Linked DNA regions of Homo sapiens: all the other regions are linked to region 3. The links are contacts of gene promoters, found by promoter capture Hi-C in human tissues and cell types (Jung and others, 2019). All regions are on one chromosome and are shown on one strand. The core of a region is centred on a gene start or on the middle of the fragment in contact, and the rest is flanking DNA. Distances in the headings are between cores, read along the strand shown. Region 1 overlaps ESCO2 (establishment of sister chromatid cohesion N-acetyltransferase 2). Region 2 overlaps CCDC25 (coiled-coil domain containing 25). Region 3 holds the start of EPHX2 (epoxide hydrolase 2).

Region 1 (3,941 bases), core at 652-3,151, 290 kb before region 3:
TCAAAAACTTGTATCCAGAATATATAAAGAATGCTTATGGTATGTCAATAGTTCAGCAATAAATGAGAATTACTACTGATACACCCAACAACATGGATGAACCTTAAATGTATTACTAAGTGAAATAAGCCAGACCCCAAAGGATATATATGTGTAATGTTTTTCCTGGAAAAGGTAAAACTATAGAAATAAAAAGCAGATTAATTGTTGCCAGGGGGCTGAGGGGAAGGAGAGTAACAATAAAATGTAGGCATAGGGAAATTTTAGGGTGAAGGAACTGTTCTGTATGGTACTGTAATGGCTAATACGTAATTCTATACATTTGATAAAACCCACAGAACTGTAAAAATCACAAAGAATGAACTCCAATGTACATCAAATGAGAAAAAAAAATACATATAAATATCAACCAGGCTACTGAGGTAGCCTAAGATGGAATGCAGACTGTGAGAAATGAATCTAACTATATTAGAACTGTATAGCATAACGACACTGAAGGAGGTAGGGGGAAAAAGAGAAGCTGTCCTAAGTAACTTTAGCAAATGGTGTTTTGACTAGAAGTTATAAGGATAAAGACAAAAAGATTGCACTTAAAATTGCACTCTAGGCCGAGTGCAGTGGCTCACGCCTGTCATCCTAAAAAATATATTATTTAATATATATATATTATTTAACTATATATGGAATTCTACAAAGGGAAAAAATTGAAAATATATCACATTTAGAGAAGAATGGCATGAGCTGATATAGGATTCCACAAAAGCTTACTTCAGCAATAATTACATATAGAAAAAGAGACTGAATTAGATAAGATTCATCTCAACCTCAACATGAACTATGAGATGAAAGGTAAGGGAGGCCAAGGCGGGTGGATCATCTGAGGTCAGGAGTTTGAGACCACCCTGCCCAACGTGGCGAAACCCCGTCTCTACTAAAAATACAAAAAAATTAGCCGGGCATGGTGGCAGACACCTGTAATGCCAGCTACTTGGGAGGCTGAGGTAAGAGAATCGCTAGAACCCTGGGGGCAGAGGTTGCAGTGAGCTGAGATTACGCCATTGCACTCCAGCCTGGGTGAGAGTGAGCCTCTGTCTCAAAGAGAAAAAAATTGCACTCTAATTGGTTATTTCTCACAGGGGTATGAATTAACAATTATGAAACTGTTTTACATGTTTACTGGGACAGAACAAATAAGTAGATGGATAGTGAATAGTAGGAACTAAGTGTCTCACTGTCCGAGAAGGAAGTTACAGATGAAAAAAGGATAGAATAAATCCTGGAGTACTGGATTAGAGTTGGAAATATCAACGTCCAGCTGGCAATATGCAAACAAAGAAATAAGACAGAAAATGTCACAGATAAGACTAAAGACACATGACAATTAAACGTAATATAGTACCTTGGAATGGATACTGGGACAGAAAGAAAACATTAATAGAAGATTCCAAATAAAGTTTAGAGTTTAGTTAACAGTAATATACCACTACCAATATTTGGTGAACTCCAAATAAAGTCTAGTGCTTAGGGCCAGGCACAAGGGCTTATGCCTGTAATCCCAGCACTCTGGGAGGCTGAAGTGGGGGGATCACTTGAGGTCAGGAGTTTGAGACCAGCATGGCCAACATGGTGAAACCCCATCTTAACAAAAATTAGCCGGGCATGGTGGTGGATGCCTGTAATCCCAGCTACTTGGGAGGCTGAGGCGGGAGAAATGCTTGAACCCTGGAGGTGGAGGCTGCAGTGAGCCAAGATGGTGCCACTGCACTCCAGCCTGAGCAACACAGTGAAACTCCATCTCAAAAAAAAAAAAAAAAAGTCTATACCAATACAAGTTTCTTAGTTTTGACAAAAGTATTATAACATAAGATGTTAAGAATGGAGGAAACAGGGTAAGAGATACACTGCTACTCTCTGTACTTTAACTTTTCTGTAAATCTAAAATTATGGCAAAATAAAGTCTATTAAAAGAAAAGAGCAAAGTTAAAACAGCAATTGATTTGAGGAAAATAGTAAGCTGAGAGTGGGCTAAAAAAACAAACTTTAACTTTGCATTGAAAAATAATTAGAGCTCATCCTCTAGAAACAAGGCCAAGGCAGGTGAAAGTCTGAGCTGCTATTGGTAAGTTACTTAACCCAAGTCCATTTCCTCATCTATAAATGGGCATATCAGGACCTAGAGTAGTAGGGAGAATTAAATGATAAACTGTAGTTATTAAGTAATAAAGTTTTGGTCTTTTTATATTACTTTTATGATTTCTCCCATATCCTTATACCATTTGTATTATTTTTATTCACTATTTTTCTTTAAATTGACTTAGACAATGTACTAAAATATATTTTAAAAGAAAAATTTATAACTATTTTAAGTAGATGCCTTTTTGTTATATTTTCTATTGTATCAGTGCTTTGAGCACAATCTATGAAAAACATAACGTATACTAAATATTTAGCACTGCCTTATATTCAGCACTCAGTAAATACTAGTTATTAACATCATATCTCAGAATCATAAAAAAAAGCTTTATGTATTCATAGTTTAGTAAGCTATTTAATTGAACACTGACAGCATAAATTAGGAATAGGATTTCAGAATTGACAGGAATTTAAAAATTAACTTTAACTCTTTAGAGATATCTTCCTAGATCATACAGCTAATTATTAGTAAACCTAGACAAAAATCCATGGTTCTTGATGCTTAATTTCAGTGTCACTTATAAAACTTAGTAAGTTCTGCTCACAATTGGGCTTTGATCACAAATATACATAATAGTTTTAACTTCTATTATTTTGGGTGAAAGATAGAGTAGGTATGATTTTATAATGAGAACACTCAACTCTAGAGAGCTTAAGTAACTTGGCCACAGCCATAGACCAATTAAGCCTAATATTTTGTCTAAAATTTTAACCTAGGATCTCCTTGTTTCTTGTTTTTCAAAACGCAATGCACTGCTTTACTACAGAAAACAGTGTCACAGAGATAAACAAAGATACTAACCACAGGCACGCTACTGAAAAAAGAAAGACCCAGAAATTACAAGAATTATTATTGTATAATGTATGTAATAAAGCATTATTTTAAGCAGCTAAATTCATGCGAGTTTTCTCTTACTTGTCTTATTCTCACCAAGAGAATCCTCTGAAGAAAAAGCCTCATTTTTATCAACTTTATGTTCCTTTGAAGAAACTCTGTCATCTGATGAATCCTGAAAATAGGTTTAAAAAAAAAACCAAACATCTGTAATTTTTAACTATTTTCTAGTGAATGAATCCCAGCAGATCTATTTCTAAAACAAAAGATTTGGTTTATTATGAATTACATTTCATAATGTGATTTTCAATCAATTTTCAAACTATTTTTAGGAAAACTTCCCCTGTATTCACTAAGCGTACATTACCTTTAAAGCCAGAGTACAGCAGGGCCCGGTGGCTCATGCCTGTAATGCCAGCACTTTGGGAGGCCGAGGTGGGTAGATTGCGAGGTCAAGGGATTGAGACCATCCTGGCTAACATGGTGAAACCCTATCTCTACTAAAAATACAAAAATTAGCTGGGCGTGGTGGCACCTGCAGTCCCAGCTACTCGGGAGGCTGAGGCAGGAGAATTGCTTGAACCCAGGAGGCGGAGGTTGCAGTGAGCCAAGATCGTGCCACTGCACTCCAGCCTGGCAACAGAGCAAGACTGTCTCAAAAGAAAAAAAAGCCAGAGTACACGTGTTGTAATCTGTCATCCTCTCAAAAATGTGTTATACTTCCTGACAGAGATGGCAGAATGATTACAGACCATCACTTCCATAATGAAATGAACAAAAAAGCCAGTAAAAATGGCAAAAGTTTCCCCAGCAGCCACCAAACTGGAAAGGGACAACTTTTTGCCATAAACTTTAAAAATCAGCAGCTAAGGAAAGAACATTCTAGAGTCACTGGAGAGTAGCAGGAATGTGG
Region 2 (4,108 bases), core at 36-2,535, 270 kb before region 3:
TAGATACAAATCTAGATACATAATTTATGTCACAGATATAAATTTAGATGATATTTTTAGAGCCCTCTGGAGTGGCATTTTGCTGTCATTAAAAACCTTTGTAGAAAAAAACGTAAGAGGCCAGGCATGGTGGTTCACGCCTGTAATCCCAACACTTTGACAGGCTGAGGCGAGAGGATCACTTGAGCCCAGGAGTTCGAGACCTGCCTGAGCAACATAGGGAGACCCTGTCTCTACAAAAAACAACAATAAAAGAAAATATTAGCTGGGCATAGTGACACACACCTGTTGTCCTTGCTACTCTGGAGGCTGAGGCAGGAAGATCGCTTGAGCCTGGGAGGTAGGCTGCAGTGAGCTGTGATCATGCCACTGCATTCCAGCTTAAGAGACAGCGAGAATCTGTTGTCTGAAGTAAGTGAATGTATGTATGTATGGAACACTTTTTCCCTGGGAACTCTTAGAGTCATTTGGAGGTATCAACTTTTCCTAGGTTGCCTTGTAAGAACGGACATTACTTCTCTAAATCACCCCATTGTCTGGCATTCCTAGCCCATTACATTTATTTCTAATAGTGTTTATGACTTCAGACCAAGAACTCGATAGAAACATCAATTTAAGTGGAATGATTTACTTTCACTGAAAAGCTTTCAGGTCTGTTCTTTTTATCAGCCAGCAGGTGTCATCAGGGAGCCAAACTTTGCCTGACTGAGGGAAAGAGATTTTTTAAATTTCTCTTTCCTTTTTTTGCTTACCTTTTGGCTATTTGCTCAGTCCTACTTAAAGCATTAGAAAGCCTTTCAGAAAACTCATAGTGTCTACGACTGTTATGAGTGCCTTTACCCAAGATGTGTCTTCCTTTTGCTTTTCCTTTTCTGGATGGTAAATACCCCATTCAAATTATATAGACCATACTTTCTTGGGTACATTTTAAATCATCACATATGAATCATTCACAATTTATTTATTTATTTATTTATTTGAGACAGTTTCCCACTCTGTCACCCAGGCTGGAGTGCAGTGGCGTGATTTCAGCTCACTGCAACCTTCACCTCCTGGATTCAAGCAATTCTCCCACCTCAGCCTCCCGAGTGGCTGGGGCTACAGGCACGTGCTACCATGCCTGGCTAATTTCTGTAATTTTAGTGGAGATGGGGTTTCACCATGTTGGCCAAGCTGGTCTCAAACTCCTGACCTCAGGTGATCTGCTCGCCTCAGCCTCCCAAAGTGCTGGGATTACAGGCGTAAGCCACTGTGCCCAGTATTGTTTATGATTTTTAAATTGGCATTTAATACTTAAATAATTCTGTATTAAACAGAATTATTACTAATTATTAATATGGCTGTAGAAATATTTATTGATATAACCTTTATGTAGTGATATATATTAGCCTTAAAAAATGTGCATTCACTTTGAGCGAATACTTTAGCTTTTAGAAATATACCTTAAGGAAATAATCAGAAATATGGACAACTTTACTTAAAAAATTTATTGAACCATTTATAATTAGAAACAAACCAAGGGCCAACAATAGAAAAGTTTATTCATATAAGAGAATTAGGTAGTCATTGTTCCCAAAGAACTTTATTTTTATTTGTATCTAACAAATACATAGTTTAAAAAGTCAAGTAGTAATAGAATGCTTAGAATTAAAAAAAGAATCCTTCTTAATACCCATGTTCCACCCCACCTGCTACCTCCCCAGACAATTACTTTTCACTCTGTTAGCTATTTCTTCTGGTGTTTTATTTCCATGTGTGATAGAATTTAAGGTGATTTTTATTTTCTTTTTATACTTCTAATGTTTGTTTTGTTTTAAATTTTCTGTAATTTTATAATCAAGTTAATTTTTCTTAAAGAAGTAAAATATTTCTTTAAAGTTTCAGCCAGTTCTTTTTAATGTTTAAGTATTATTAGGTGAATTGATTATCTGAAACATCTGAACTATTGGTTGCTTTGTTTTGTCAGTGTTAGTTTTATTATCTTCATATAGAAATAATATCTGAGCTTTAGATTAGAAGTATTATATAAATTTATAAAAATTATAAAGTTCATATTGTTCAATTATGAAAATTATTATTTTTTCTGTATTTTCAAGCATCAAGGCCTCCGAATTACTCTTCTTCATTGAGGGAGAGAGAAATTTGTGGGAGGAGCTGACATTTCTCCCATTCTTATAAACCCTGGCATATCTTCATTTGACAGTTTTTGTTTCTTTCGTTTCTCATATCTCATTGCAGATGAAGATCTGATCAAGCATGGCTGGCCTGAAGATATCTGGTAAGTAACAATTTTGGTTCTGCCCTCTGTAGATCATCATTTCCTTTCTTAGACTTGGCCAAGCATTCAAACTAGAATCATGCTTTGTACTGTGGTTTATGGGTCTTCAGGGTTAAACAGCTGACTGCCAGTTCCTTCATTTCTAATTACCTTGCAAGTTGGAAATGATGTTTTTGGGTTTGATCTCAGGCTTGAGAGCAAAGGCCTCTAGGACACAGGCCTTCTTTTTCCTCCTTTTTGTCTCCACGCCATAGTAAGTTACTGAGACCACACCTCACTTAAATATTCAGACCACTGTTCTTGAGTGGAAAAATGAAGACTTCACATGAAGCAATGAAGAAAATAGATACAAGCATCCATGCGGATGGAATAGACGGAGGTTCTTACTGGTCCAGCTTTAAAGGAAGCACACTTGTTCCCCTTTGTCTTCTAAACTCCCTGATGAGTTTAGCTCTGTCTTGATCCAACCCCGACGCCTTCTTTCTAAAACAATTTATGTGAACTGTTTTAAATAATAACATATACTTTCTTAGTCTCCTTTTGAGATCATTTATTTTGCTCACAAAACCCAGTCCAAAAAAAAAGAATACCAAACAAACAAAAAGACTTCATTTAAGCTGAATTCTTTTCTCTGTCTTAGAACACCATATAGACTTCTACCATTCAGACCTGGGGCCTTTTATGAATACATGGGCTTCTGTCCTATAACACTGTCACACCCAGTCTACTTTCGTTTTCTTCATCTTCAGCTTCCACCACTGACTCTGACCCTAGTATTGCCTCTCTTCTAGAGCACAGTCCTGCCTATGGAGTGGGATATCATCTTCCTGACTCCTCATACCTCCTACCAAATGCTATCCCTGAAGATAAAGGCACCTGGGTCCCGTTTGCTTTATTATGATAGTGAATATCTGTCAAGCACTTAACTATATGCCAAATACTACTAAGTGTTTACCTCCATTAATACATTTAACTTCACAACAACCCTGTGAAATAGATATTAATATTTATGCCCATTTTTTCAGATGAGGAAATTAAGGTTAAGAGAAACTGACTGGGTCTGCTCTGTCTGCTACTGGCTCTGGCTCTGGTTCTAAGTCACTGCTTCTGTCTTCTCCAGGCTGCTGCTCTTTTGGCTTCAGCTCCTTTCTTCTCCCAGGCTGTTGCTGCAGCTCTCTCTGGACCTCTTTTCTCCAAATGTGGACACAGACCCTTCACTTATTTCCCTCTAGTGATAGAGTTGGGCTACTGCTTTTTAGAAGAGTTGATTTAATTTTCTTTTTTTTTTTGAGACGGAGTTTCGCCCTTGTTGCCGAGGCTGGAGTGCAATGGTGCGATCTCGGCTCACTGTAACCTCTGCCTCCCTAGTTCAAGAGATTCTCCTGCCTCAGCCTCCCGAGTAGCTGGGACTACAGGCACCCATCATCATGCCTGGCTAATTTTTTGTATTTTTAGTAGAGACTGGGGCTATCACCACATTGGCCAGGCTGGTCTCGAACTCCTAACCTCAGGTGATCTACCCGCGTTGGACTCCCAAAGTGCTGGGATTAGAGGCGTGAGCCACCGCGCCCAGCCAGAACAAAGGAATTTTAAAGGCTTATTTAAATCTGGTCCCTATTCCAGCACAAAAACCTGTCTTCTAAATCCAAATATGTCATCAAGTTAAACCCTGCTTGGTGCTCTTTTGCCTCAAGTGGGCAGTGTGCAATGCTGAAAACATCCAGACTGGGGCTGCCCGCCTTCCTAGGGCCTGAGACAGTAAGCTGTATGAGGACAATGATCACCTATTTCATTAACTACTATGTCCCCAGTACCTAGCATAGGTCCTGG
Region 3 (4,117 bases), core at 442-2,941:
GGGGAACTTTCCTGTCTTACAAGAGAATTGTAAAATGCACCAATCAGCGCTCTGTAAAACGCACAATCAGCAGCATTCTAAAAGTAGCCAATCACGGGGAGGATTGAAAAAAGGGCACTCTGATAGGACAGAAATGGAACATGGGAGAGGACAATAAGGGAATAAAAGCTGGCCACCCCAGCCAGTAGCGGCAACCTGCTGGGGTCCCCTTCCATGCTGTGGAAGCTTTGTGCTTTCGCTGTTCACGATAAACCTTGCTATCACTCACTCTTTGGGTCTGCGCCATCTTTACGAGTGTAACACTCACTGCGAAGGTCCACAGCTCCATTCTTGAAGTCAGCAAGACCACGAACCCACCGACAGGAACCAACTCTGGACACAACTATAGCCTCCAACTCCTGGGCTCAGGCAATCCTTCTGCCTTAGCCTCCCAAGTAGCTGGGGCTACATGCATGCACTAATGTCTAGCTAATTTTATTTTTATTTTTGGAGAGACAGGGTCTTGCTCTTTCACCCAGGCTGGTCTTGAACTCTCAGCCTCAAGTGATCCTCCCACCTTAGCTTCCCAAAGCACAGAGATTACATGCCTTTCCCTCAAGCTACTTGCCATCTCATCTTCCTTACTATATTAAAAGCAAAGGCTCCGGACATGGACTACTGGGGTTGGATTTCTGGCTCTGCTCTTTAACAGCTATGTGATTTGGACAGCTGGTTTCTTTCTGTGCCTCAGTTTCCTCATATGTAAAAGGAGGATATGAACAATGGCTTCCATGCCTGGCCTTCTTTTTCACTTTATAAATAAGTATACTTCTCTCCTTTCTGAATGTGGGAATAATACATTGTTTATAAATTTAGAAGTTGGAAACTACAAAAAAAAAAAACACAAAAAAAAGAGAGAGAGAAAGAAAATCATTACATTATTCCTAATCTCATTTGATGTACTTTGGCCTATTTCTTTCAGGCACTTTTCTGCATGTACCTTTTTTCCATAGCTGAAACCATATTGTATAAATAGCTTCAGATTCTGGTGGGGTGGTTTTTTCATGTAGTAGAACAGGTGTTTTCCCAAGTCCCTGAGCTCTCACTCTGCACACCCCATCTACCATTTCCCAGTGATGTGGCTTTGGGCGGTTGCTGCAGTTTGCTATTACACAAGTAAGCATGCAACCCACACCTGGGGAGAGAACTTTCTTCTCTCCTGAATCTCGGCTCGCATCTTTAAGCGCCACCCCATTAGACAGGAGGCAGCAGAAGCACAAAGCTCCATGAGTAACTCCTCTCCCTTTTGGAAAAGTTCACAGAAAGCAATTTTGGAGACCTTGGCAACGTTTAATTATGAACATTTAGAAAGACAACGGATCTCCTCATATGCACTGGGACTTCAGGGCCAGGTCTTCAGTTTCATGATTCGCATGATTCGCAGGGCTCCGGCACAGGAGCAATCTGAAAGCTGGGCTGCAAGCCCAGCGCGGTCTGCCTCCTGAGGCCCCGACCCACTGCGGCGGCGGCGCTGGGCCCCCTTACCTGGGCAGCGCCAGGGCCTCCTCCGTGCGGCCGAGGACGCCGAACACCGCTGGCAGCGCCAGCACCCCGTCAAGGTCGAAGACGGCCGCGCGCAGCGTCATGGCGGCGGGTCTGCAGCCTAGCACCCGGACACGCAGCTAACCTGGGAGATGCGCGAAGGCCAGGGCGCATGACCCGCCCAGCTTGGCCCGGCTCTGCCCCGCCCCTGCCCTGGCCCCGCCTCCTCCCCACACCCCCTTAACGGGACTCCGCCCTCTGCCCGGGTTAAGGCTGGACTCTGGCCGGGAAAGAGGCAGGGGGAGGGGCACAGGAAAGGGAGTCAGAGGGAGAGGAAGAGGAGGCCGGGAAGGCGGGGACCCCAGGCTAGAATCTCGCCTCTGGATGTAACGCTTTCTACTGTCTCAAAGGAAAGTCCAAAGTCTCTTATGCCCCCTCCCCACGCCCCTGCAGTAGCTGCTTGAAGAGGCAAACCCAGGCCCGGGCCTTCCTGGACGGACTGACAGCTCCCTGCGAACTTGCTGGACTTGGAATGCCTGGGAAAGAGGCCACAGACTCTGTGTGTGTGTGTGTGTGTGTGTGTGTGTGTGTGTGTGTGTGTGTGTGTGTGTGTCAGCACATCCAGTGACTTCTACATTCAGAACATAAGACCGTGTTGGGGGGCGGGGGAGGGGCATATCCAGTGACTTTTCTAGATTCAGAACGAAGGATCACAGATCCCTCACTATCCTGACCACTCCTCTAGGCACGCTCTTCTTTGCCAAGGCAAATGTGTTTCTAGAATAAAATATGATGTTCCAGCTATCGTGTGCCAGCCCAGAATACTTCGATTTCAATCTCTTGTGGAATGAAGCTTAGAAGAACTAAATGTAGGCTATTATTTTCCTTTTGTACATGCTACTTGTAATAATTCTGTCTTAAAATGTGCGAGGTTTGTTTTTAATCACCGATTTCCACACTATTGGCTCGTTTATGTTCCTAGAAAAACTAAAACTTTGGCTGGGAGTTCTTGAGCTGTTGTAGTGCAGCTCCATGAATTAAAAACCGTGTCTTTGGTGGAGACCAAACAGAGTGAGTGAGGTCTCCAACAGTGGAGAATTTACTCTTGAATGTGTCTCTGTGGATTTATCCAAGATACCCTCCACCACGGAGCTTCAAGAACCTTGTGAGGGGTTGTCAGATACCTCACTGTAACTGGGAGGTCTACAACAGTCTCTGGATCTAGCAATCAACAACAGGATTGACCAGAGCCGTGGGTTTCCTCTGGGCTGTTTGCCCTTAGCAAGCTATGCTGTTGCTTCCTTCTCTAGCTTGGTAACCTCTTCCAGGCTCCTGCCTGGAGCAGTTATTAGTGTTTTCTGAGATTCTTGCCAAAGAAGCAGAGAGTGGCCAACACTGCCAAATGTTACAGGAAGAACTGAAAAAAAAGCTGTCCAATTTTGGACTTGGATGACACCGGATGTTTCAGAACACTTTTTGTGGGCCCTTTATGGTAGAAACTGGATTACTCTGGATTTGAAGACTGAAAGATAGGCAGAGAAGGGAGTACAGCAAGCTAGTTTCTCATGAAGTTAGTTGATCTCAAAGGTATAATTGAATTTTAAAAAATAGAAAGAAAATTGCAGCCTGACCTATATAGTATGAAACCTGTTAAATCTCCAGATTGGGCATGGTGGCACACACCTGTAATCCCAGCACTTTGGGGCTGAGGTGGGAGAATTGCTTGAGGCCAGGAGTTTGAGACAAGCCTGGGCAACAAAGCAAGACATTCTCTCTATAAAAAATAAAAATAAAATATTAGCTAGGCATGGTGGTGCATGCCAGTAGTCTCTGCTATTCAGGAGGCTGAGGTGGGACGATCACTTTAGCCCAGGAAGTGGAGGCTGCAGTGAGCCATGATTGTGCCACTGCACTCCATCCAGCCTGGGTGACACAGCAAGACTCTACCTCCAAAAAAAAAAAAGAAAGAAATTAAATCTCCAACTTAGAGTTTCCTTTGGGCTCCAGACTTGCCAACTTCTTACTCAACATCTTACTCAACGTCAATATCCAACTTCTTACTGAACATCTTCTCTTGAGTGTCTAACAGGCATCTCAAATTTATCATGGCTAAAACAGAACTCTCTCTGCATTTCTACTTCCCACGCCTGTTCCTCCTAGTGTGTTCCCTATCTTACAAACTGGCATCCCCATTGACTCAGTGGCTCAGTCCCGAGACCACGGAGTTGCTTCCAGATCCTTGGCTCCCAGCCAAACCATATGTTCGTGTTTCTAGCGGTGGCCTGCTGATTGAGGCAGAGATAGCAGCTTCTAGTTCTATGGTGGTGTTTTCTGGGAGTCCTTCCTAAAGGCTCAGTCTGGAGCTCACTCCTCCATTCCGTTCAAAGATTGTGTAGGCTTGCAGTCTCTCATCTTAAATCCCTTTCTTCTGTTTCTATTTAAAATAACTACAGTGATTTCTGTTGCCTGCATCTGAATTCTGCATCTAGCACAGTATTGCTTATGAATACGTAAGTATATTTATACAAGCAGTAAAGTGTAGAGGAACGACATACCTACAGAACTAGATTTCATAAAGCCCCCTTTTGAGAAGAAA

The links. The method cuts DNA at HindIII sites, captures the fragments that hold promoters and counts their contacts. A contact is called where the count stands out against the background at its distance.
Region 1: a contact is called between a fragment that was not itself captured here and the fragment with the promoter of EPHX2 in region 3, in 1 of the 25 tissues and cell types used here (dorsolateral prefrontal cortex).
Region 2: a contact is called between a fragment that was not itself captured here and the fragment with the promoter of EPHX2 in region 3, in 1 of the 25 tissues and cell types used here (hippocampus).

Annotation. Positions count from the first base shown.
Region 1 is chr8:27,779,436-27,783,376 of GRCh38, reverse strand. ESCO2 (establishment of sister chromatid cohesion N-acetyltransferase 2) reads right to left here. Exons shown (of 11, transcript NM_001017420.3): 4 at 3,110-3,203. Among named protein-coding and RNA genes, the nearest start is that of ESCO2, 6.9 kb to the right of the region's middle. The HindIII fragment of the contact is 3,612 bases long and covers 96-3,707 here.
Region 2 is chr8:27,760,589-27,764,696 of GRCh38, reverse strand. CCDC25 (coiled-coil domain containing 25) reads left to right here. Exons shown (of 9, transcript NM_018246.3): 3 at 2,239-2,278. Among named protein-coding and RNA genes, the nearest start is that of CCDC25, 10 kb to the left of the region's middle. The HindIII fragment of the contact is 3,611 bases long and covers 1-3,090 here.
Region 3 is chr8:27,488,717-27,492,833 of GRCh38, reverse strand. It overlaps EPHX2 (epoxide hydrolase 2), which reads right to left and starts at 1,691. Exons shown (of 19, transcript NM_001979.6): 1 at 1,525-1,691. The coding sequence starts at 1,625. RefSeq lists a silencer at 1,608-1,887 and a cis regulatory region at 3,634-3,948. The HindIII fragment of the contact is 8,102 bases long and covers 1,301-4,117 here.